6 separate regions of the Homo sapiens genome follow, and regions 1, 2, 3, 5 and 6 are each linked to region 4. The links are contacts of gene promoters, found by promoter capture Hi-C in human tissues and cell types (Jung and others, 2019). All regions are on one chromosome and are shown on one strand. The core of a region is centred on a gene start or on the middle of the fragment in contact, and the rest is flanking DNA. Distances in the headings are between cores, read along the strand shown. Region 1 overlaps FBN3 (fibrillin 3). Region 2 holds the start of CCL25 (C-C motif chemokine ligand 25). Region 3 overlaps HNRNPM (heterogeneous nuclear ribonucleoprotein M). Region 4 holds the start of CERS4 (ceramide synthase 4). Region 5 overlaps ELAVL1 (ELAV like RNA binding protein 1). Region 6 has its middle 21 kb from the start of ELAVL1.

Region 1 (4,021 bases), core at 394-2,893, 140 kb before region 4:
TCTCAAACTCCTGGCCTCAAGTGATCCGCTCACCTCAGCCTCCCAAAGTGCTGGGATTACAGGCGTGAGCCATTGTGCCTGGCCAAGGCCAGGATTTTGAGGTCAGCATGGGCAACATAGTGAGACCTCATCCACCCACAAGAAGTGAAAATATTAGTACTGGTGTGCACCTGTAGTCCCAGCTACTTAGGAGGCTGATGTGGGAGGTCCCAGGAGTTCGAAGCAGCAGTGAGCTGTGATCACACCTCTGCACTCCAGCCTGGGTAACAGACTGAGACCCTGTCTCAAAAATATATATATGTTTATTAGGCACCTACTGAATTCCTGGCAATCTTTGAGGCACTGGGGATTTAGCAATGAGCAGATAAAAATCCTTCCCCTCAGGGAGTTTACCTTCTAGTAAAGCAAAGCAGATAGTAGACAAATAAATGGAAAATGTAAAAGTGACAAGATGTGCTACGAAAAGACATGAAGTTGGCTGAGGGCCAAGGTGGACAGATTGCTTGAGCCCAGGAGTTCGAGACCAGCCTGAGTAACCTGGTGAAACTCTGTCTCTACTAAAAATACAAGAAATTAACCAGGTGTGGTGTTGCACACCTGTAGTCCCAGCTACTAGGGAGGCTGAGGTGGGAGGATCCCTTGAGCCTGGGAGTTCAAGCTGCAGTGAGCTATGATTGCACTGCTGCATTCTAGCCTGGGTGACAGAGTGAGACCCTGCTCCCCAAAAAAAAGAAAATAAATTGATTTTAAAAATCAATAAATAGGCTGGGCGCAGTGGCTCACACCTGTAATCCCAGCACTTTGGGAGGCTCAGGCAGGTGGATCACGAGGTCAGGAGATTGAGACCATCCTGGCTAACAAGGTGAAACCCCATCTCTACTAAAAATACAAAAAAAAAAATTAGCTAGGCGTAGTGTCAGGTGCCTGTAGTCCCAGCTACTCCAGAGGCTGAGCCAGGAGAATGGCATGAACCCAGGAGGCGGAGCTTGCAGTGAGTGGAGATCACGCTGCTGCACTCCAGCCTGGGCGACAGAGCAAGACTCCGTCTCAAAAAAAAAAAAAATCAATAAATAGGGTGGGCACGGTGGCTCATGCCTGTACTCCCAGCACTTTGGGAAGCTGAAGTGGGTGGATCACTTGAGCCCAGGAGTTTGAGACCAGCCTGGGCAACATGGTGAACCCCGTCTCTACAAAAAATACAAAAATTAGCTGGGCAGGTGTGGTGGTACATGTACCTGTGGTCTCAGCTACTTGGGGGATTGAGGCGGGAGGATTGCTTGAGCCCAGGAGTTCAAGGCTGCAGTGAGCTATGATTGCGCCACTGCATTCCAGCCTGGGTGACAGAGTGAGACCTTGTCTCAAATAAATAAATAAATAAATAAATAATAAATCAATAAAAAAATAAAGTGGAGGAAAATACTGCTTCCCTTGGCATCTCAAGTCTGGTTGTTCATCCGCAAGGTCAGCTGGATCTGTAGACTCAGTGGCATAAGGCTGAGGCTGCTTCTGAGAGAGGCAGGGAAACGGCCACTGTTACACACTACAGACCCCTAGTCCCAGCTGAGGGACCTTGCTCAGACCCCTGCCAGCCTGGGCCAAAGGTATCAAAGATTTGCTCTCAGAGACCCAGCAGCCAGGGGATTATTCAGATGACATTGCGACCCAGAGCCCTAAGGTCACTCAGAAATGTCTTGGGATGGCTGGTGTTAGGAACAAGGGCCTTTCAGCAGAAGCCAGCCCCTAAAAGAATGCCAGAGCTGACAGTGAGAGAAACGGGATGCCAAGCAGGGCTGGAGAGGAGAGCGTAAAGGACCAGACAGAAGAGCCGCCTGATAGCTTCCGCTGTGCTTCCTGCATCTGGCCCTCTTTGAGAGCCCCTTGTGTGCCAATGACAAACCCTTCTTTATTTAAGCTCCTCTGAAGTGCCTTCCTGGTCTTGGCAGCTGGACAGGGCCCTGAATAAGACAGCGAGCCTCAATGGCAGGCTACCCCAGGGCTGGGTGACGTATCCAACCCCACAGAAAGTCATCTGTGTTTTCTTTGCCTTTGTTTTAGGGAGCACTGTGTTGGTTTGGCCTCATTTACATGCCGACGGAGTGTTTTGCTGTTGCATTCAAGTGAAAGTTATTCCTGTTCCCCAGCCCCTCAGTTCTGGAGATCTCAGGCCTTCTTCCCACGGAATGTTGTTAAGACTTATGCTCTTACTGACCCCTGCTGGCAGTCAGTGGGTATTGCAGGCAAAGGCACAATACAGCCCTATTTTTGAGACAGGGTCTGTCTGTCACCCAGGCTGGAGTGCAGAGGTGTGATCACAGCTCTCTGCCGCTTTGAACTCCTGGGTTCAAGCAATCCTCCCGCCTCAGCCTCCCAAGTAGCTGGGACTACAGGCACATGGCACCACAGCTGGCTAATATTTTTACTTTTTGTAGGTGGAGGGGGTCTCACTATGTTACCCGGGCTGGTCTCAAAATCCTGGCCTTGACTGGGCACAGTGGCACACACCTGTAATCCCAGCACTCTGGGAGTCTGAGGTGGGCTGATCACTTGAGGCCAGGAGTTTGAGACCAGCCTGGCCAACATGGCGAAACCCCATCTCTACTAAAAATACAAAAATTAGCCCTTCTCTGTCTTGATCTACTTCTGCCCTGGGACCCTGACAACCACTCACTCACTCTTATTGAGTACCAAGGGGTACCAATACAGTAGTAAATCCTACAGACACAGCTCTACCCTTATGAAGTTTACAGAAAATATCAGTAACTATGGGATAATATATACATCCACAGTTTTTCCTAGCAAGGGGGAAAAAATAACTAGAGGGGAAAAAGGGCCTTTCAGTAATACAAAGTAATACACTCACATTTTATCTAATATAGAAAGCCTCTCAAGCCCAATAACCCTATCCCATGTCTCACTTTGTTTTTCCCCATAGCACTTATCATGTATCATATTTGTCATGTGTTATAAAAGATGATATGTTTTACATGTTGATTTCTTGTGTGTCTCCCTTTTAGAATATCAGCCTCACGAGGGCAGGTGTTTTTGTTGTTGTTGTTGTTCACTGTTGCTCCATTACAGTGCCCAGCAGTGGTATTCAGTAAAATCTGTGGAGTGAAGAAGCTTCGACCTAAATGTCTGCAGTGGGGGTGAGTTTGGGGTAATGGTTTCCATGCTCAGTGATAATTGTTTGGGAAACAATGTAAAGTGATGGCTTCGGAAGACAGAGGGGCCCAGGATGGCTGGCCATGGATGCCAAGGCTGCTTGTAAAGAGAAGTCCACGTGCCATATCCATGGAATCTCTGAACCACCACGTTCAAGTTCTGTAACTTGGGCATGTGCCCTAACCTCTCAGAGCCTCAGTTCCTCCATCTGTAAAATAGGGATAATAGTGGCATCTAGGCTGGGTGCAGTGCTTCATGCCTGTAATCCCAGCACTTTGGGAGGCCGAGCCGGGTGGATCACCTGAGGTCAGGAGTTCAAGACCAGCCTGACCAACATGAAGAAACCCCGTCTCTACTAAAAATACAGAATTAGCTGGGCGTGGTGGTGCACGCCTGTAATCCCAGCTACTCGGGCGGCTGAGGCAGGAGAATCGCCTGAACCCAAGAGGCAGAGATTGCGGTCAGCCGAGATCACGCCATTGCATTCCAGCCTGGGCAACAAGAGTGAGACTCTGTCTCAAAAAAAAAAAAAAAAAATAGTGGCATCTACACCTCCCAGGGTTGTCATAAACATTGAGAGGCTGTGAACAGAGAGCACTTGGAGTGATACCTGCATACAGCAGGTGTTTAATACATTTTTGGCTTTCAGATCCCTTGGGTGATGGCTGCAGGACTGACCCATAGTCAGGGACTCTTCAGTTGAGGGGCAAGCAGCTGGCATCTGTGGCAAAAATGCCCTCTCTGCACACCTTGATGGGGTGGCCCGAGAGGGAAGGAGGGATGGAGCCATAGGCCTGCCCTACGGCTACTGAGTGGTGTGTTGAAGATCCCTGAGATTCCTAGAGACAAGGCAGGTTCA
Region 2 (3,616 bases), core at 100-2,599, 160 kb before region 4:
CTTCCTGAGGGCATGGCTACCCGGGGCTCCTGGCTTTTCTTCCAAAAACAAAACATTTCTTCCATTTTTTCTTTTTCTTTTGTTTTTTTTTTTTTTTTTTTTTTTGAGACAGAGTTTCACTCTTGTCGCCCAGGCTGGAATGCAGTGGCCCAATCTCGGCTCACTGCAACCTCCGCCTCCCGGGTTCAAGCGATTCTCCTGCCTCAGCCTCCTGAGTAGCTGGAATTACAGGTGCCCCCCCACCACACTCGGCTAATTTTTGTAATTTTAGTAGAGATGGGGTTTTGCCATGTTGGCCAGGCTGGTCTCGAACTCCTGACCTCAGAGGATCCGCCTGCCTCGGCCTCCCAAAGTGCTGGTATTACAGGTGTGAGCCACTGTGTCCGGCCACCGTTTTTTTTTCCATTTTTTGAGACAGGGTCTTGCTCTGTTGCCCAGGCTGGAGTGCAGTGGCATGATCACAGCTCACTGCAGCCTCAACCTCCAAGGCTCAAGCAATCCTCACACCTCAGCCTCCTGAGTGGCTGGGACTACAGGTATGCACTACTACGTCAGGCTAATTTTTTAAAAAATTTTTGTAGTGACGCAGGTCTCTCTATATTGCCCGGGGTGGTCTTGAGCTCCTGGGCTCAAGCAATCCTCTGGCCTCGGCCTCCCAAAGTGTTGGGCTTACAGACATGAGCCACCATGCCTGGCCTAGAGAGTTTCTTTCTTGTTGGGGTTGTTCACCGGTGGGAGGTGCACCATTGTGCCGTGCTGACTATATTCATAGAGTTATGTAACCATCACTCTCATCTAATTTCAGAACAAAAGGAAACCCATACCCTCTCACAGTCAGTCCTTCATTCTCCCCTCCCCCCATCCTGTGGCCACCGCTAATTTACTTTCTGTTTCTATGGATTTGCCTGTGATCACAACCAGAGGATTTCTGTGACATGCTAAGTTACCTAACCATGGTGTGGAAGGAGAGGGAAATGGAGTGAAGTTGGGGACCCACCAGGGAACAGGTGGCTTGAGGGCGGGGGGAGCATGAAGGTAAGGGCTTGTTTGGGGGCTCAAGGCAGTCTGAGCCTTGTTCGCAGGCAGCCAGTGTCCACCAGGTGTGTGCAGGTGAGGGAAACAGGGGAAAAGGCCCTTTCTGGAGACAGTAGGGGTGCTGGCTGGGAGGCCTGGGATGGGGAGTGGGGAGGCAAGGGGGCCTGTGGGTCGAGGTTGGAGCTTGCTGTAGAAGAGGGAGAATTCCAGAGGCTGAGAGTGCAGGTGGAGAGGAGGAGGAAGGGAGGAGGGCGGGCAGGGGGTGGCTGGGTGGGGCTCTGTCTATAAAGAGTGAAGCTCAGCGTGTTGGTCCTGCAGATGGGACAGCTTGGCCTACAGCCCGGCGGGCATCAGCTCCCTTGACCCAGTGGATATCGGTGAGTCTTTTCCTTGAACATGACTGAGATGAACAGCTTTTCCCTCCAGCACAACTTGTTCCTACTTTATACAACCTCCTTCCCTTGCCATATGCCTGGGGCTTAAGAGGGGGGATGTTCCCAGTACCCACTCCCCTCCTCTTCCTCAGTCCTTACCACTTCCCTCCACGACCCCAGGTGGCCCCGTTATTCGTCCAGGTGCCCAGGGAGGAGGACCCGCCTGCAGCATGAACCTGTGGCTCCTGGCCTGCCTGGTGGCCGGCTTCCTGGGAGCCTGGGCCCCCGCTGTCCACACCCAAGGTACTGTGTTCGGCAATGCCTACCACCAAGTGCCCCTCTCCCCATGCCCCCACCCCACCCCTTTTGTCTCTTATCTCCTCCGGAAGTCTCCCCAATCCCATCTCCACTGAATTCTCCCGCTCCTGACATGCAGGAACTCCTGGTGTTTGGTTAGCTCTTGGGATGGGGTCGGGGAGATGGAGAGTCCCCAGTTCCTTCTTCGAGAGCCCCATGGAGTCTTTTGCAAGACTCCTAAAGATGTGAGGGAGCAGAGGGTGGCTTCCAGCTGTGGGCAAAGCCAGTTACTGCCAGGGATGTATTGTAGAATCCTAATCCTGCCGAGCCAGGGGTGGGGTTGGAGATCAGGGCCCTGGAGACTGACAAGAGTGGATTCCCATCCTGGTCCCTCCATGCAGTCCAGCTGAGAGTTAGTTGCTCCTAAACCATTTTTTTTTTTTTTTTTTTGAGACAGAGTCTCACTCTGTCACCCTGGCTGGAGTGCAGTGGCGCGATCTTGGCTCACTGCAACCTCCGCCTCCTGGGCTCAAGCGATCCTTCTGCCTCAGCCTCCCAAGTAGCTGGGACTACAGGCGTGTGTACCATGCCCGGCTAATTTTTGTATTTTTTAGTAGAGATGGGGTTTCACTATGTTGGCCAGAGTAGTCTCGATCTCCTGATCTCAGGCGATCCGCCTGCCTCAGCCTCCCAAAGTGCTAGGATTACAGGTTTGAGCCACTGTGCCCGGCTTCCTAAACCTTTAGGAGCCTCCGTTTCCTCAGCTGCAAAGTGGGAATCTAAAATTCCCACTGCATGGCTCTGACTTGAGGGTCCAGTGAGCTCATGCCTGCAAAAGACTAGGCCTCATGTCTGGCGGCGGCAATAGTAACTGTTCCTGTTATTAATAGGGAACTCTTTCCTTCTTCCCCACTCCCTACCGCAGAGCAAGCACTTGAGGATTTCAGTCGCCAAAGGACAATTCCTGGGCCTGGGGTGTCCCCACGGGAGCCCTGACACTGGGTCCTACATCCTCTGAGTTTCAGCAGCTGGCCAAAGCAGGGTCCCTGGCTGGGCGGCAGACCCAGGGTCCCACCCTCCTTCCCTGTCTGCCCCCACCTGACCCACCTGCCCCTCGGCTGGGTCTGATGGGTCCAAGTCCTTGGCCTTTGCCTGGGAAGGGGGTTGGGCTGTGGTCTGATTGTTTTGCTATCAGAGCCAGGCCCAGCCCAGCCCTTCGATCCTGGCCTCCAGCCTTGGGAACTACCTGCCTGGCACTGCAGTCCGAGGTTCCAACAGAATGCGCTGCCCCTTGCCCTCAGAGGCCGCGGTTGGGAGACACCTGGAGGGCTCGAGTCCTCCCTTTCCCTGCTCCTGCTGGGCTGGGCTCTGCAGGGACTCAGACTCGGCCTCTGGAGGTTAGTTCTGGCAGAGGTGAGATTGCAGAGAACTCCAAAGGCCATTTAGGCAGAGAATTGCACCCCAGCTTCCTCCACTATCTCATCAGCTCATCCTCGGCTCATTCATTCCACCTGCTCATCCCCCCAGAACTTTCTGGCATCACCTCCTCCTCCTCTGGGCACCCCCCACAGTGCCTGTGCTTCCCCCTTTCTGCAGAGATCAGTTTCCCGGGAGCTCCCTGAAGACAACACTAGGTCTAATTCATCTGTGTGTTTCATCTCTGCTTGTCTAGACATTGACATTTACTGAGAGCTCTTTACTTTGTATTAAAACAATTTTTTGTTTGTTTGGTTGGTGTTTTGTTTTGTTTCATTGAGACAGAGTTTTGCTATTGTCGCCCAGGCTGGAGTGCAATGGCGTGATCTCGGCTCACTGCAACCTCCACCTCCTGGGTTCAAGTGATTCTCCTGCCTCAGCCTCCAGAGTAGCTGGGATTAAAAGCGCCCACTATCAGCCAGGCACAGTGGCTC
Region 3 (3,849 bases), core at 1,084-3,583, 250 kb after region 4:
TACAGTACAGTTGGGCCTCATTCGAATTAGCTTTTGGAATAACCTCCAAATTTGTGTTCTCGTGATTTGGTTGAACCGCTGAATTGCTATTTCCATTGATAATAAGGTATAGTAGTTCCAAGAACCAGGAATGTGGCTTTGAAAATGCAATTGTTAGAATTTTGTAAGAGATTGCAGGCCAAATTATTTTTTCATTTTTAGGAGTGTGTGAACCAGTTTTGGGACATGCTGGATGAAGTAGGTGACATTTTTACTGCTTTACCATTCAGTAATTCGGTTTGGGAAACCTTAAAGCTGGTAGTAGCAGCAGCAGCCATGGTGTTTCTGGATGTAGAAGCAGTTCACCTCAATTCACTATTTTGCACTCTTAAGTGTGGAGCCAGCCTGGTGGTTGATTGGGATACTTCCAAACTGGTTCTCATATTCCCCTGGCATACTGCTACGAATGCCTGGGCTCAGCCCTCTCAGTGTATTTTTGGTGGTGTAATTTAGAATTACAGGTGTGCAGTAAATCAGTTATTTTTAATGAGCCTTAAAATGTTCTTGTTTAGAGCTCCCCTGTACTGGTTAAATTAATTACTTTGCTGTTTAATTAAATTATTAGCGGTATAGGATTGTGGGTAAAGTGACTCAGAAAGGTAATCTTTTTATGATAATGCTTATATTCAGTATGTGAGGTCTAAAGAAATTTACTGTGTTTACATACATATGACTTCTTAAGAAATACTCTTCTTATTACGTGCTTTCAAAAAGACGTTTTTATTCCCGTTTTGGTGTACAAAAAATGTTTAAGTGGTTAGTTTAAATCTGAAATATTTACTTGAAATTTGTTGCGCATAAGTTTTAAGTGTTTTGAAGACTTTATACATAGGAAGAACTGGCAGATAGAGGCACTTACAACCCTAAAAGTATTAGTCTCAATTCCAAAACACAGAGATCTGGGCTGTTGTAACCTAAGCACTCTTTATCAGTCTGTGTTTTAAGGTCTGATGAATCTTAGCCTTGTTTCAGGAAATGAGTAGAACAAGAACTGGAATTAGTTGTCCTCAACTGAAATTTTCTGTCATTATAGCACTATCTAATTGCAGCCTCTCAGAACTAAAGTAGCTAGCTTTGAGAGGCCCAAGAGGGGAGCTTTTTTTCTAAGGATACTCCGGGGGGAGATTGTCTCACATGCTCCTCCCTCACTCTTGATCCTCTTCCCCATCTTTCATACCAGCTGCATATTCTCCAGCTTTAATTTTAGCATTTAGCAGCATTCTAGCATTTCCTATTAAAAATCCACATAGGAAGTAAACTGGTCATTTATGCCTTTGAAAGTGACTTAACAGGCCACAGCTCCCCAGGTTGTATCCTGACAGGTAAAGGGATACACATCTTAAAGTGATTGACCATAAGGACTGGGTGGAAAAAATAAAGATTTCTGTGAGAAAAGGCGATCTTAGGCTTTTAAACTTAGTGTCGTGCTACATTTGTTTGAGACCAAGTCCTGTATGAGTGGAGGAAGCTCCTTGCTGGGCTGCTTCTCTTGACCTCACCAGGCAGCCGGCAGCACCCAGGTGGGGCAGTGCCACCAGAGCAGGACTGAGCTGCACCTGCAGTGAGTAAATAGAGCCCAGGTTGAGGAAGAAAGGAAGGTCAGGGATGTAGTTTACCCTCAGTCGATCCGAAGTTTAGCAGCAGTCAGTTCAACTTGTGTAAGCAAAGATTTCTTTTAAGCACTTAATCCTTCTGTTAGTATAATACACCACTTTAAGTAAATTTCAAATTGCATCTGACAGAAAACTAAGGCCCAGAGGGCAAGTGTAGTCCAGTAGAAAACCTCCATCTTGGCTCCTGGAGATAATTTGCATTGTGGGTCTATTAGGCAGAACTGTATTTTCAATTTAAATGATATTCCTACCCAGTCTACTTGCTTCTTCATATTTTCCTCTGTTGGAAATGCAGCCTGTATTTTATTTATTTTGTTTTTGAGATGGAGTCTTGCTCTTTTGCCCAGGCTGGAATGAAGTGGTGTGATCTGCAACCTCTGCCCCCTGGGTTCAAGTGATTCTCTTGCCCCAGCCTCCCAAGTAGCCGGGATTAGGCACCCACCACCACGCCGAGTTAATTTTTGTATTTTTAGTAAGAGATGGGCTTTCACCATGTTGGCCAGGCTGGTCTTGAACTCCTGACCTCAGGTAATCTGCCTGCCTTGGCCTTCCAAAGTGCTAGGATTACAGGCCTGGCCGCAGCCTGCATTTTAGAAAGGCCTGTTATGCTAAAGCGTTCATATGTATGAATACTTAGGTTGAGCCCCAGCAGTGCAGCCTGTCTGGCTTACCCCGTGTGGTCTCTGGTGTTAGGGAAGCAGTAACGTTCTGTTATTGCCACGCAATTGAGGAGCGTGGGCTCAGTCATTTCCTAACATGTCCATAAGCCAAGTAGGTGTGTAGAATAATTATTTTGCCATGTTTCAAGGTGTCTTTATATTAAAGAGTGTGCATGTGTTCTGTGCACTCCCCTCGCCCAATAGAGTGGCAGCCTGAGAATTGACCGTTATGAGATGAAGAATGTTTGACAACATGCCTGACTTTCAAGTCCCCCCAACTCCTGTTAAAAAAAAATATATAGGTCTTATAACATGTGAATTCTCTTCAGTGAAGCTTCGGCACTGTATTCCCTCTTTTTTTCTTTTTCAGACTTGAGCAGTAAATGGGAACACAAAAACAAATACTCATTTGGCTAAAGGTCTGTGCAGGAGAGTGAGGTCACAGTAGCTCCCAGGGACCGCCTGAGTTCTTTTTGGGTTGCTCATCTGCTTATCCTCCTGATGTGTTTTAAGAATAAGGCAGTCTTTTTAATAATTCACTTAAATGTTGGTCAAAAATGATTTCTTAGAGCATTTTAAATAGAGGTAGATAACAGTTGGTGTTAGATTTTTTAATGTCTTAGTTTTTTCAATATTTTGATGTTTTAAGCTGCAGTAGAATTTGTCTTAGCAGCCTACTCTTGGGATTCCATGAATTCCATCCATGTTTACACAGGGGGAGGAGCAACCGTATTTTTTATTAATAACTGTGAGTGCCGTTTCTGTAAGACTGCTGCTACTGCCAAGCTGTCACCTCTACCCCTGAGTCCTGACTGTGTGATCTGCTCTGGATGGTTTGCTCGTTAAACTTCACTTCATGGAATGTGACCAGACTGTTTACTTGACAAATTTTGCCCTCACATTCTTGTCGATAGTTGTACTGACTACATAAAATAAATCTTTGCTTTGCTATTGTAGAACCAAAAGGGAGGTGGTCTTTTAAAGGCTCCATTTTCCTATAGGAAAGTATGAATTAGCAGCTATTGCAGATCCCTTAACACTTAATGGATGGTCTCTCAGGGTAGAGGTTGGAATTTTATGAGTTTGTGAGGAGGATGGGCATTACTGATGATCTCAGGGACAGCACTACTCATGCTGGACCCCCGGGTGACTGCTAAATGATGATACCACTTGAGGTAAAAAGAGGGAGAACGTTTTAAGCAAATTTTTAATACAAAGGATTGAGTCAGGTGTGCTATTTCTAGACTAGACTGTTACGTGGAAAAAGTCCTAATTTCTAAACCTCTCTTTTTGTTAAAGTGGTTATGGCCATGGGAAAAAGTTTGGTTTGGATTTGCTTGGTTTCTGGGTTGCAATTACAGCTTTTTGATCCAAGCGTCTTATGGACACAGACTAGAAACTTCCCATGCAACTGGGACTTGAATTTCGGCAACATGGTTGCAGCTGTTTTGAATTAATTATTGTGAGTCTTTTATTTTTTAAAGGTTATTAGGTGGTAGTCATAGCTGGTAGGAAATCAACTTGGGGCCTCTTCAGTC
Region 4 (4,023 bases), core at 972-3,471:
CTCGAGTAGCTGGGATTACAGGTGCGCAACACCATGCCCAGCTAACTTTGGTATTTTTAGTAGAGAAGGGGTTTCGCCATATTGGCCAGGCTGGTCTCGAACTCCTGACCTCACGTGATCCACCTGCCTCGGCCTCCCAAAGTGCTGGGATTACAGGCATGAGCCACCACACCCTGCCTACCAAAGTTTTTTTATTTAAAACAAAAAAAAATTAGCCGGGCATGGTGGCAGGCATCTATAGTCCTAGCTCCTCTGGAGGCTGAGGTGAGAGGACTGCTTGAGCCCTGGAGTCCCAGGCTGCAATGAGCTGGGATCATGACATTCCATTCTAGCCTGGGCAACAGAGTGAGACTCCCATCTTTAACGAAATTTTTTTTGATAGAGTCTCACTCTGTTGTCCAGGCTGGAGTGCAGTGGCACGATCTCCACGCACTGCAACCTCTGCCTCCTGGGTTCACGTAATTCTACTCCAGGCTAATTTTTGTGTTTTTAGTAGAGATGGGATTTTGCCACGTTGGCCAGGCTGGTCTCAAACTCCTGACCTCAGGTGATCCACCCGCCTCAGCCTCCCAAAGTGCTGGGATTACAGGTGTGAGCCACCGCACCCAGCCTCTAACAGATTTTTTTAAAAAAAGAAAAGAGAAGGTCGGGCATGCTGGCTCACGCCTGTAATCCCAGCACTTTGGGAAGCCAAGGCTGGTGGATCACGAGGTCAGGAGTTTGAGATCAGTCTGGCCAACATTGTGAAACCCCCGTCTCTCCAAAAAAAAAAATATATATATATATAAATTAGCCGGGTGTTGTGGGCGCCTGTAATCCTAGCTACTCGGGAGGCTGAGGCAGGAGAATCGAATGAAACCAGGATGCAGAAGTTGCAGTGAGCCGAGATCATGCCATTGCAGTCCAGCCCGGGCCACAATGCAAGACTCCGTCTCAAAAAAAAAAAAAGAAAAAGAAAAAAGAAAAGAGAAACAGTGTAGCAGAGGGAAGGCCAAGTGCAAACGCCAGGAGTCTGAACTTGGAGGGACAGGTTCTTCCACACTTGCAACAGAGGTCTCCTGCCTCCCTGACCGCCCCGCCCCCCGCGCCCCTGTCTGTGTGAGGAAATCAAATCTCAGCTTGCCTAGGGCCCTGTGGCAGGGAGGCCCCAACTTCACCCCATGGGTCTTGGGTCTGCTGAGCTGAGTCAGAGAAAGGTTTATTATCCCCATTTTACAGAGGCTTATTGTCCAAAGGCGAAGCCACTTGCCCAGAGTACATGCGGTGGGCCAGCGACTATGAAAACCCCTGGGGCTGTCCTCTGTTCAGGGATCGCCCAGGCTCCCTGCCCCTGCGCGCTGCTGAGACTGGGTCATTTTCGGTTCTACCAGGCAAGCGGGGGACCCAGCCCCCACTGCTGCTGCCCTCAGCCAAAACCAGGGCTGCGCCACCACCCACCCGGCCTATCTCCCATCTTATCTCCCCAGCTCTGTCGCCTGACCCCTGCACCCCACCAAATCGCAGCCTTTGCCCGGTGCCCTCACCGCCTCGGTTGGCCCCCGCGCGCGCCTCGGGCGAACCCCTGGACTGGCCCTCCAACAGGGCCCCAGACTCGGGGTACCCAGGGTGGCCGCTGAGGCCTGGAGAAATCTGGGCCTCCCCTGTGCACCATCCAACTGCGCGCCCCAGAGGCTCAGGGCGCCCCGGGAGTGTGGGGGTGTGGACAGATGAGCAGAGCCAGAGCATCTCGGGCAGAAGAGGGGACCTGGGAGGGGGCCGGGGAGACAGACAGCGAACAGGGGTGAAGCCGGGGCCGGACGGAGCGCGCAGCGGACAATACTGGGTTCAAAGGGGAGAGATAAGGCGCAGACTAGAAACGCTAGGCTGGACCCGGGCCAGGCGCGCCGCGGGGCAGAGATGGGCGGAGCGGGAACGGGGGCGGGGGCGAGAATGGGGGGGCGGGGACGGGGGCGGGGATGGGGTGCGGGTGCGGGGTCGGGGGCCAGGGAGAGGCCTAGTTGCGTCGAGGGGGGCAAGCGCCTGGAGGACCCGGCGCCCGCTCCAGGCCCTGCCCCTCCAAGTCCCCCGCCCCGCGCCAGGCCCCGCCTCTCCAGGGCCCCAGCCCCGCGCCAGGCCCCACCGTTCCGGGGCGCGTGCCCCGCCCAGGCCCCGCCCCCACGGCCCCGCCCCGGGCTCCCCCCACTCAAGCCTTTTTTCCCCTGCTGGGGGCCGAGGCCCGGCCAGGAGCAGAGTCCGGCTGCCTGGGGCGGGCGGCGCGTGTCTGCAGCTGCTCCGGGTAGCCCGCTAGGCGCGCCGTCCCCAGCCCCGCCGCCGGCCCTCGGTGCGCCCGGCCGCCTGCACCCCCAGGTAAGCGAGCACCCCGCGCCGCGAACACCGCCCCGAACGCCACCCTCACGGCGGTCCCCGGCCCCGCCTCCGCGGCCATGGCGGCCCCAGCCCGGCCCCCACTCGCAGCTGGGCTCCAGCCCCCATCACCCCGCCGGGGACTGTCCCCCTCGGGGCTTCCCATCATGGCCGTCTCCCCGAGCTATCCGCGCTCCCCCACGAGGGCCGGGGCGCAACGGGTGCCCGAGGACGCGGCTGTGAAACGGGCTGGAGCGAGTAGGGGCGATCCTGGCCTCGTGACGCGGGGGAATCCGGATGTGTGAGCCGGGGGAGCGCCCCGTTTCCCCGACGTGCCAGGGCTGGGGACGCAGCTGGGGCCCTGGCCTCGGAGTCCGCAGCCCGGCCGCGTAGACGGCTTCTGAGAACCGCTTAAACACGTCATTCCAAGCCCGAGCTAACCCATCAGGCGGCCGGGGTGAGGTGGAGGTGCCCAGGCGGGGATAATGTCATTTGGCCTGGTTGGACCAGCCAGCGAGGGCTTTTTAGGCCCAGGGCCTAGCCGGGAGTGTGTGCGGAGCAGAAAAGAGGCCAGCCTGGCTGAAACGCGGAGAGGGAGGGTCTGAGGTGGAGAGAGGTTGGCCGGGGCCTGGGAAGCGGCGAGGAGAGTGTGGAACCCGTTCTCGGGGCGGTGGGGACCAGGGAGGCTTGGAACAGCAGGTGCATGGCGTGATCGGATTGTGTCTTAAGAACATCCCGTAGCCGCTGTGGGTAGGAGAGATGGGGATACTTGGAAGGGGGCTTCTGGCTTGACCTGGCTGGAAGGTGTGATAGGAAGTGGGTGAACTGAAAATTCGCTTTGGCAGAGTAACATCGTCTAATTCTGTCTGTTTGCAAGTGGAGCGTGGGGGACCGATGTTTCTCCTGGGTAGTTAGGAGTATATAGAAGAGGCTTTCATTGCTGGGTTGGGAGACTTGAGGAGAAGCTGCTCTGGGGGACACAGGAAGGTGGGCAGGGGGAGAGGCTGTTGTGGTTTGCAAAACCTACCAGATGGGGGAATGCTCCCATCGACTCCAGTCTGAGCTCAGGCAAGGTCTCAGGCATCTGAGCGCAGAGGCCAGGGTGACCCCACTGGGGCGACCTGGGTCTGTTATATGGGGATAGGGTTCCTGGACTGTGGAATTGTCTTTGAAGCCCTCGGCCTCCCCCAGCCTCAAATGGGTCTGCCTTCCAGGAGCAGCTGCTGTGAATAAACACAGAAGTGGAGCTGGGGGACTGATTAGAAGCCTCATTCAGTGCACCTGGGCCCCAGCAGGCCCAGCCAGGCGTGGAGGAAGAGGCATTGAGGACTTTCCTTACCTGTTTTTCCAGCTCACCCACTGCCAGCAGAGGTACTTTGAGCCTGGGGTGTGGGGGGTGGGGGGCGGCCTTGGTCGTTGAACTGGCTGTAGGGCCCCCAGGGAAAGGTTTCTGAGCTTCAGTTTACCCATCTGTAAAATGGGTCAGTAGTATCTGAGCCTGGGAGTGTTCATGGATCGATGAAAGCCGAGGCTAGGCAGATCTCGGTGGCAGCCACACCCCTAAGGAACCGGAGAGGGTTCTAACGCCCGGTGGGAGTTCAGGGGGATGTATGGGCTTCCATTTCTCCTCTGAGAAATTCACAACAGTGTCCACCTCCTGACCCAGGGCTGTCTGCAGGT
Region 5 (4,193 bases), core at 994-3,493, 250 kb before region 4:
AAAAAAAAAATAAAAAGGCAATGGGCTGATGGAAAACTGATAAGGGCTTTTCTTTTTTTTTTTCTGAAAATAATTTAAAAAGCTTAAAAGTTACATAGGCATCTTCAAAAGAACACAATGGGATTCATTTTATTGTTGACTTTTGGACACCAGTGTCAGACTTTATTGAAAACAAACCCATGTAAAAACAAAGTTAAAATGAAAAATGGCACCTGAAAAATAAATTATTTTATATAAAACAAATCAATAACTTAAAACACACTAATATACAAAAGGTCTAACCATCTACTGTACAACATGGGAATCGGTTAAGAGAGCCTCCCCTCCCCCAAAGCAAGTCACTGTAAACGGAACATCACATGGTCATGGTCAAAGAGGTGGCCCCAAACCAACGGAAAAGGCTTCTCTTCTGGTGGAAGAAAAATCCAGTCCTGTCAAAGTCTCCGTTAGCCTAACTTAGGTACTGGCGGTGACTTACAAGTGAGAAAAAAAAAATTTGTTTTTTTAAATGGCCAAGAAAGAAACCTGAACGATGTCACTGAAAGGTTGTAGAAAAATAGGATCCAGCCATTAGAGGTCAGGGGAAATCAAAAAGGTTTGGAAATGTGAACCCTGCCTGGGATCCGAGATTCAGATTCTACTGCCATCATTACACGCCAATTGCCAATGCCACTTAAAAGAAAGCACTTGTGACTTCAGGGCTGTCTTGCGAAGTTTGGGGACAGGAACCCCTGACCCCCAGAGTCAGCTAAACCCCAGGGGTCTCTGCTAAGGAGCTGCCTCAGGTCCTAGTAGGTGAGGTAGGTCTGGGGAAGATGGGAGGGGATTGAGGTGGAGGGTGGGGTGGAGGGACAGGATAGAGGCCTCCTGTCAGCTGAATTCTTATTCTCTTTCATCCAACACAGGAAGGCTGCGAAAAGCACATGGAAATAAAAGGGGGCTGAATCGGATGTGAAATGTAACAGCTGAGTGATGTCAATTTCGATTTTTCAAGTCCGATGCCGGACTGGGTAAGTCATGTCTTTTCAATGCCTGGTGGACAAATGGCCTTCATTTGGAAGCAAACCGGGTCAAGGAATTGCCACTAACCGTCTTCGGGTGCTTCTATTTCTCTGATCCAGCAGGGACCCCTGGGCTGCCGGCTCCAAAGGGCCGGTCTTGGCTCCCAACAGCAGCACGGTTCAGTCCCTGGAGGCTGGGTCTCCAGGACTAAGGCCAAGCGCAGACTCTCAGAGGTTAAGGCAGCTGCCCTTGGCCAGGAAAAGGCTCACCTTCCAGGAGAAGGTGGCGGAACCCACCCAGCACCACCTGCGGGCGGGCCCCCGAGGAAGCCCATGAATTTCAGGATATTCACGCAGGATGGTGGCCGGGGAGGGGACTCAGCACCCGGGAGGGAATCAGTCACAGAGCTGCGACTAGAGGCACAGCCAGCACAGAAAACTGCGGCTTGGCAAATTACACTGAAAACGAAATAATGGCAGAGCCAAGGGGGAACAAGGGAGAATTCATCAGGAAGCAGGTTCACAAATTCGGAGCTGCCTGGGGTCTAACTACCAGAGGAAGTTACACACGGGTCAAAAGGGAATTCAATCAAAGCCTCTTTGGTATTTCCCAAACCAGATTTTTGATAAATGAACATTATCTACTCTGAACGCTTTTTCATCGAAATTCCCAAATAAAAGCAGAGCACTCATTTTTGCTAAATAGAAATACAACTGATCTATGTAAAATTTTTTAAGAAATGGTTTCTTTTGGGTTGAGCCTTTTTTAAGAAAAGGGATCTCCCCTTTGCAAACAGGCCTTGATAAGATGTAATGAACTTTGAGGACACAGGGCCAGCAACTAGAACCTTGATGGAACAGAGATTGCTTTTCAGGAGTGACAGTTGTTAAGCTAAATCCTTCCACAAGCTTGCAAGCTAAGACTCCCAAATAAAGGCTTTGGAATTTTTTAGCTAGAAGGCTGTTCAAACAGCGGAGACCACATACAATGAGAATGTTCCTGAACTGAGAAACTTCAGGGAACTTTCAAAGGCTCATATACTTCACAGTTTCTTCTCACCTGTCCCAGCATCAGAATAATTGATAGGATTCAGATAAAAGGGGGCGAGGAAAGAAGCTGAGGTGCTACAAGCCCGTCATCATTTTCACAGTTGAAGCTTAAGACAGAGTTCTCTGTTGAATGCTAGCTATGGGCATGTGTGGGAGTGAGACTCCAGGGGGAGTTTCAGAAGCGGGAATCCCGCCTTCCATCAGAAGGGTGTTGGCTCCCACCTTCCATCAGAAGGGTGTTGGCTCCCACCTTCCATCAGAAGGGTGTTGGCTCCCACCTTCCATCAGAAGGGTGTTGGCTCCCACCTTCCATCAGAAGGGTGTTGGCTCCCACCTTCCATCAGAAGATGCTGGCCCAGGGAAACCTGAAAGGCTTCTTTTTCCAGGAAAGCATTCTGGTCCCAGGATGCAGACTGCTCTCGGGCAACAGAGCAGGGACCCTCTTTTGTGTCGAATCCGGGCAATGGGCCTCGGTTTTGGCTTTTCCTGAGGATCTGGGATTCTGTGGGAGAAAGGAGGTCCTCTCTGGCACCAGGCCGACTTTTATGAGACACAGCCTGGGTACGGATGGCAACATCATCAATTTGCAAGGATCGCGCACACAGCCCCTCAGTAAAAGATCAGGGAAAGGGGAGGGGATGGGCATCCTCAATTGTCCAGGGGCCTCTCGAGACGCTGACCTGCTCTGGGGACGGTGGTGCCTGCCTATTGCTCAATTTCACACTTCAATAAATAAATACATAAATAGGTATAAATAAACAGATAAATACAGCCATCATCTCATGAGAGCAATAACTAAAAAACAGCCTACGGTCACGTTTTAGTCTCACGTCAAGGTTAAAAACTGCTGGTACTAAGTTATCCTGTTTGTGATTCTCTCTGTAAACTAGTTATTTATAAACGCCAGATCCCAGTCCTGAGGAGTTTTGGGTGATCTGGCCCTGCCTATTTCACAGGCTTTCTCTTTCACCCTTCCTCCGGGCTCCTGGTTTAAAAGCCACCAGCCTGTAACTGCACATTCTTGCGTCACAGATTCAGAAATGCTTTTGCTTGAGGCAAGGATTGGTTTCTTAAGATCTTACGACTCCTCCCTGAATGCTGGGCCACCTGCACCTTCCCTAGCCAAAAAGAAAGAAAAGGTAAAATAAAAAACAAAACAAAATTCGAGCAAAACAAAATCAAATTTAATGGTCTTAAATGCAAAAGTAAAAACAAACAAAAAACACAAAAAAGCAAAAGAAAATTAACAGAACAGAACAACCCAAAATGTCAAGGCAGTTATGAAGAGAACTTTGAGGGTTAATCTTTAAAACTACAAATCAAAGGTTTTGGTTAATAGATAACTGGCAAGAAGTAAGTACTTTTCTGCTGAGTGTTCATACAAAAGCAAAATTCCAAAACAAAATCCGACTAAAATAGAAAAAGGTCTAAGCGCTCACGAGAAGGGATGCGAGAAATACAATGCTCAAATGTTTCTGTGTTATTAAAATACAGAGCCATTTTACGCCTCCAAGCTATGTTAAATGCTCTGGAAAACGGGAGAAATTATCGTGAACAACAGTATCCAATGTGTGGGGCGCTGTGCATGCAATGTGTGGACAGAAACTCGGGATGTCAGAGTAGCAACACATCTTCAGGCGTGCCTGGAGCTTAGATCTGACTCTGGAATATACTGGAGTTTCCCTGAAACTCTTTGGTCCATTCCCATTGGTGCCTGGGCTTACGAAACACGTTTGTGTCCTTCTCTGGAGGGCCCGCCCAGCATGCAGCCCGTGGCCCCCGGCCCCAGTGGTGGCCCACGCTGGACGGGCCCGCCGCCATTCCCAGGACCACTCGGCAGAGCCCGGGACTGAGTGAGCAGGAGGTGGCAACGGGACCTGCCTGGAAAAGGAACTTCCTGTCAACCAAAGCATACATCGCTTACAATGTTGAAGCGGTTGAGAAAACGCACACTCAGCATCTGTCTAACATCTTTAGATTAAAAACTAAAACTAAAAGGTGATTTTTTTGCTACCCAGTCTGTGGAGACATTGAATGAAACGCGTGTTAGACAGTCTTAGAGGTTAAAGCATGCTTCAGGTTCACCACCATCCAGAGGGACTGGTTAGTCAATGCAGTTCTACTTAGATTTCTGTTTAATAT
Region 6 (3,612 bases), core at 914-3,413, 180 kb before region 4:
CCGCCTGCCTTGGCCTCCCAAATGCTGGGATTACAGGCGCGAGCCACCGCGCCCGGCCCCTTCTTCCTATTCTTTCAAAGCCACCAGTTGCCCTCCTATGATAACCCATTATCTATTAACCCATGGATCTGTTAACCCAGGAATGGATTAATCAGTTCATGAGGGCAGAATTCTCATGACCCAGTCACCCCTTAAAGGCCCCACCTCTGTCAACACGGCCACATCAAGGATTAAGTTTCAACGTGAGTTTTGGAGGAAACGAACATTGAAACTGTGGCACCAGGTGTTATCAGTCTATTAAGAGCTCATGCAAATTGATAAGCACCAAAGGTGCAAAGATCAGAAACAGACAATTCCCAGGAGGATAAGCGGGGGGTCTAGGAGCCTAAGAGTGGATGTATTGGGCATCAAGGGAGGGCCTGTTGGCCAGGGTTGGTCACAGCAAGGATCATTCCAATGCTGCCGGGACCCCAACACTTGCTTTCTGGCCAGGCGCGGTAGCTCACGCCTGTAATCCCAGCACTTTGGGAGGCCGAGGTGGGTGGGTCACGAGGTTAGGAAATCAAGACCATCCTGGCTAACATGGTGAAACCCTGTCTCTACTAAATGTACAAAAAATTAGCCGGGCGTGATGGCGGGCGCCAGCTACTTGGGAGGCTGAGGCAGGAGAATGGTGTAAACCCGGGAGATGGAGATTGCAGTGAGCAGAGATCATGCGACTGCACTCCAGCCTGGGTCACAGAGTGAGACTCCGTCTCAAAAAACAAACAAACAAACAAAAAACACTTGCTTTCCAAAGGGGTGGCTGCCACTTCAATTGGAAAGACCCTTTGGACAATGCACACCCAGCATATAAGAGGGTTCATAGGCCAGGCGTGGTGGCTCACACCTGTAATCCCAGCACTTTGGGAGGCTGAGGCAGGAGGAGAATTGCTTCAGTCTGGGAGTTCAAGACCAGCCGGGGCAACATAGCAAGATCCTGTCTCTATGGATAAAAAAAAAAAAGGTCGGGCCCAGTGGCTCACACCTGTAATCCCAGCACTTTGGGAGGCTGAGACAGGCAGATCACCTGAGGTTGGGAGTTCAAGCTCAGTAGCTCTCTAAAAATACAGATCACCTGAGGTCAGGAGTTCGAGCTCAGTAGCTCTGTAAAAATACAGTAATTAGCCGGGCATGGTGGTGCACGCCTGTAATCCTGGCTACTGGAGAGGCTGAGGCATGAGAATCACTTGAACCTGGGAGGCGGAGGTTGCAGTGAGCCAATTGCGCCATTGCGCTCCAGCCTGGACAACAGAACGAGACTCCATCTCAAAAAAAAAAAAAAAAAAAAAAAAGAGGGTTCGTAGTCTGAGCTTGTGATTATACCACTGAAAATTACCCCAAGCCACTTGTGGAAGGGCTGCCTGCAGAAGGACGTGTCTTAGGCTCTTTAATAAGTTACCTTCTGGTTGGAAACTACCTAAACGCCCAGCACGCAGGCTGGCCCGGTAAATCACGCACCCATAGGAGTTATGGTCAGGAGGCCTGTGACTCTGTAGAGTGGTAGTGGCTCCCGGGCCCTGGGCCAAGCGCTGTACTGATGCCCTCAAATCCTCATGGTAACAGCCTGTTCAGTTCTGTTCACCCCATTTTACAGCAAGGGGCTGCTCTGGGGGCAGGGAGGAGCCCAGCTGGGTGGGAGATCGTGGGTTCATGGTGGCATCTGTGGGTACTCCATCCAATCAAGGGTCTGAGGCTTAAGAAGCTTAAATTTGGGGGAGATAGGGACATTCTCAATGGTGCAGTTAAAGCAGTGGCTTCAGATTCTGGTGGGAGAGGAAGGAACTGAGGCTGGGGAAAGGGATGTATTGGTCTTTTCTTTGGAAACAGTCTTGCTCTGTCGCCTAGGCTGGGCTGGAGTGTAATGGCACGATCTCGGCTCACTGCAACCTCCGCTTCCCAGGTTCAAGCGATTCTCATGCCTCAGCCTCCTGAGTAGCTGGGATTACAGGCATGTGTCAGCACGCCCAGCTACTTTTTGTATTTTTAGTAGAGACAGGGTTTTGCCATGTTGCCCGGGCTGGTCTTGAACTCTTGGGCAACAGTGATCCGCCCGCCTCAGCCTCCCAAAGTGCTGAGATTACAGGCATGAGCCATCGCCCAGTCTCACTGGTCTTTCATCTTTGTTCCATCCTCATTCCCATTCAGCACCTGATGTACTTCTCTCTTACTGGGGTGCACCCCAGGGGACGCATGACTGTGCTACAGCCCACGGGGTTTCAGCAGGGTGCGCAGAGGACCTCAGGTGGCCCTTGTTACCCACACTCATTCCTTGCCAGGTCTTCCACAGGTCAAGGAGCCAGGATTCTGGGGTTTGGACACCCCATTCTCTGGCGGATGGGGCTGGCCTGGAGCCTGGGTGGGAGTACCGGGTTTCATACATCGGGGGCTCAGGCTTGGGGAGGGGTCACATGGAAGTCACCTGGCTGGCCAGAGCAGTTGCAGCCACAGCAGGTAGAAGGCAGGAGCCAGGACTGGGTGGGCCTGCGTGGGAGGGACGGCCAAACCCTGAAACTAGCCTCCACCCTCCAGGGTACAGGGGCTTCCCTGGACACACACTGGCCTTCCTCGTCCTCCTCTTTATACCATTGCACCCAGGTTTGTTTGTCTGTTTTTAGTGACAGAGGCTTGCTGTGTCACCCAGGATGGAGTGCAGTGGCACATTCTCAGCTCACTGCAACCTCTGCCTCCCAGATTCAAGCAATTCTCCTGCCTCAGTCTCCTGAGTAGCTGGGATTATAGGCATGTGCCACCGCATCCGGCTAATTTTTGATTTTTTTTTTTTTTTTTTTTTTTTTTTTTTTTAGTGGAGACGGGGATTCATTATGTTGGCCAGGCTGGTCTTGAACTCCTGACCTCCAGTGATCCACCTGCCTCGGCCTCCCAAAGTGCTGGGATTACAGACATGAGCCACTGCACCCAGCCCCTGGGGTTTTATTTACCCAGATCCCCACTGCCTTTCCTTCCTGTGGCTGACATCTCCCTACACTGTCCCCCAGAAACACAGCTGTTTTGCCCTCAACCACAGCTCCTGCATCCAGTGCAGGGCCTGGCTCTTGACTGAGACATCAGCAAATGTGAGCCCTGCTCTCCTGGGTCAATGCAGGCTCCTTCAGGAAGGAGGCGGGGATCTGTCCCCCTTGGCATCCCCAGTGCCCAGCATGGGGGGCCTGGCACCCATGAGGCAGCCAAGGCTTTCAGACCAAATGAACAAGCAGTGAGCCCTGCCTTCGAGGGCCCGTCTTGAGGACACCAGGTGGGTTTATGACATCCCAGTGGACATGAGGCCCCCAGGGACCAGTTCCTCTCCGGCATTGGCACCAGGGCCCCTGCCCCACTGGATCAGACCTCCCAAGCTTGGGGTCCCTTTTCCAGTAGGCAAGAGAGGCACCCGACTCCTGCTTCAGCCCAAGGAGAACCTGCCGACTCCAAGGGGTGGCCATTGAGGGGATCAGTGACGTAAGTCCTTCAGAGGCAGCAGGGACAAGGAGCTGTAGGGAAAACAGGGCAGGCCTGGGGTTGGGGGGTGTGGGGTGCTGACAAGGTGCAGACCCACCACCCCAACCAAGCCCC

Evidence for each region. The method cuts DNA at HindIII sites, captures the fragments that hold promoters and counts their contacts. A contact is called where the count stands out against the background at its distance.
Region 1: a fragment that was not itself captured here is called in contact with the fragment with the promoter of CERS4 in region 4 in 1 of the 25 tissues and cell types used here (spleen).
Region 2: a contact is called between the fragment with the promoter of CCL25 here and the fragment with the promoter of CERS4 in region 4, in 3 of the 25 tissues and cell types used here (dorsolateral prefrontal cortex, mesenchymal stem cells and spleen).
Region 3: a fragment that was not itself captured here is called in contact with the fragment with the promoter of CERS4 in region 4 in 2 of the 25 tissues and cell types used here (dorsolateral prefrontal cortex and liver).
Region 5: a contact is called between a fragment that was not itself captured here and the fragment with the promoter of CERS4 in region 4, in 5 of the 25 tissues and cell types used here (H1 embryonic stem cells, dorsolateral prefrontal cortex, hippocampus and 2 more).
Region 6: a contact is called between a fragment that was not itself captured here and the fragment with the promoter of CERS4 in region 4, in 3 of the 25 tissues and cell types used here (H1 embryonic stem cells, mesenchymal stem cells and spleen).

The regions. Positions count from the first base shown.
Region 1 is chr19:8,067,342-8,071,362 of GRCh38, forward strand. All of the region lies in intron 63 of FBN3 (fibrillin 3), which reads right to left. Among named protein-coding and RNA genes, the nearest start is that of CCL25, 17 kb to the left of the region's middle. The HindIII fragment of the contact is 6,042 bases long and covers 1-4,021 here.
Region 2 is chr19:8,051,411-8,055,026 of GRCh38, forward strand. It overlaps CCL25 (C-C motif chemokine ligand 25), which reads left to right and starts at 1,350. Exons shown (of 6, transcript NM_005624.4): 1 at 1,350-1,412; 2 at 1,590-1,712. The coding sequence starts at 1,640. The HindIII fragment of the contact is 31,009 bases long and covers 1-3,616 here.
Region 3 is chr19:8,456,983-8,460,831 of GRCh38, forward strand. All of the region lies in intron 2 of HNRNPM (heterogeneous nuclear ribonucleoprotein M), which reads left to right. Among named protein-coding and RNA genes, the nearest start is that of HNRNPM, 14 kb to the left of the region's middle. The HindIII fragment of the contact is 5,699 bases long and covers 1-3,849 here.
Region 4 is chr19:8,207,149-8,211,171 of GRCh38, forward strand. CERS4 (ceramide synthase 4) reads left to right here and starts at 2,222. Exons shown (of 12, transcript NM_024552.3): 1 at 2,222-2,346; 2 at 3,558-3,714. RefSeq lists a silencer at 1,903-2,822. The HindIII fragment of the contact is 7,028 bases long and covers 1-4,023 here.
Region 5 is chr19:7,959,060-7,963,252 of GRCh38, forward strand. ELAVL1 (ELAV like RNA binding protein 1) reads right to left here. Exons shown (of 6, transcript NM_001419.3): 6 at 1-4,193. Among named protein-coding and RNA genes, the nearest start is that of TIMM44, 17 kb to the left of the region's middle. The HindIII fragment of the contact is 4,499 bases long and covers 1-4,193 here.
Region 6 is chr19:8,025,242-8,028,853 of GRCh38, forward strand. No RefSeq gene overlaps it. Among named protein-coding and RNA genes, the nearest start is that of ELAVL1, 21 kb to the left of the region's middle. The HindIII fragment of the contact is 5,079 bases long and covers 1-3,612 here.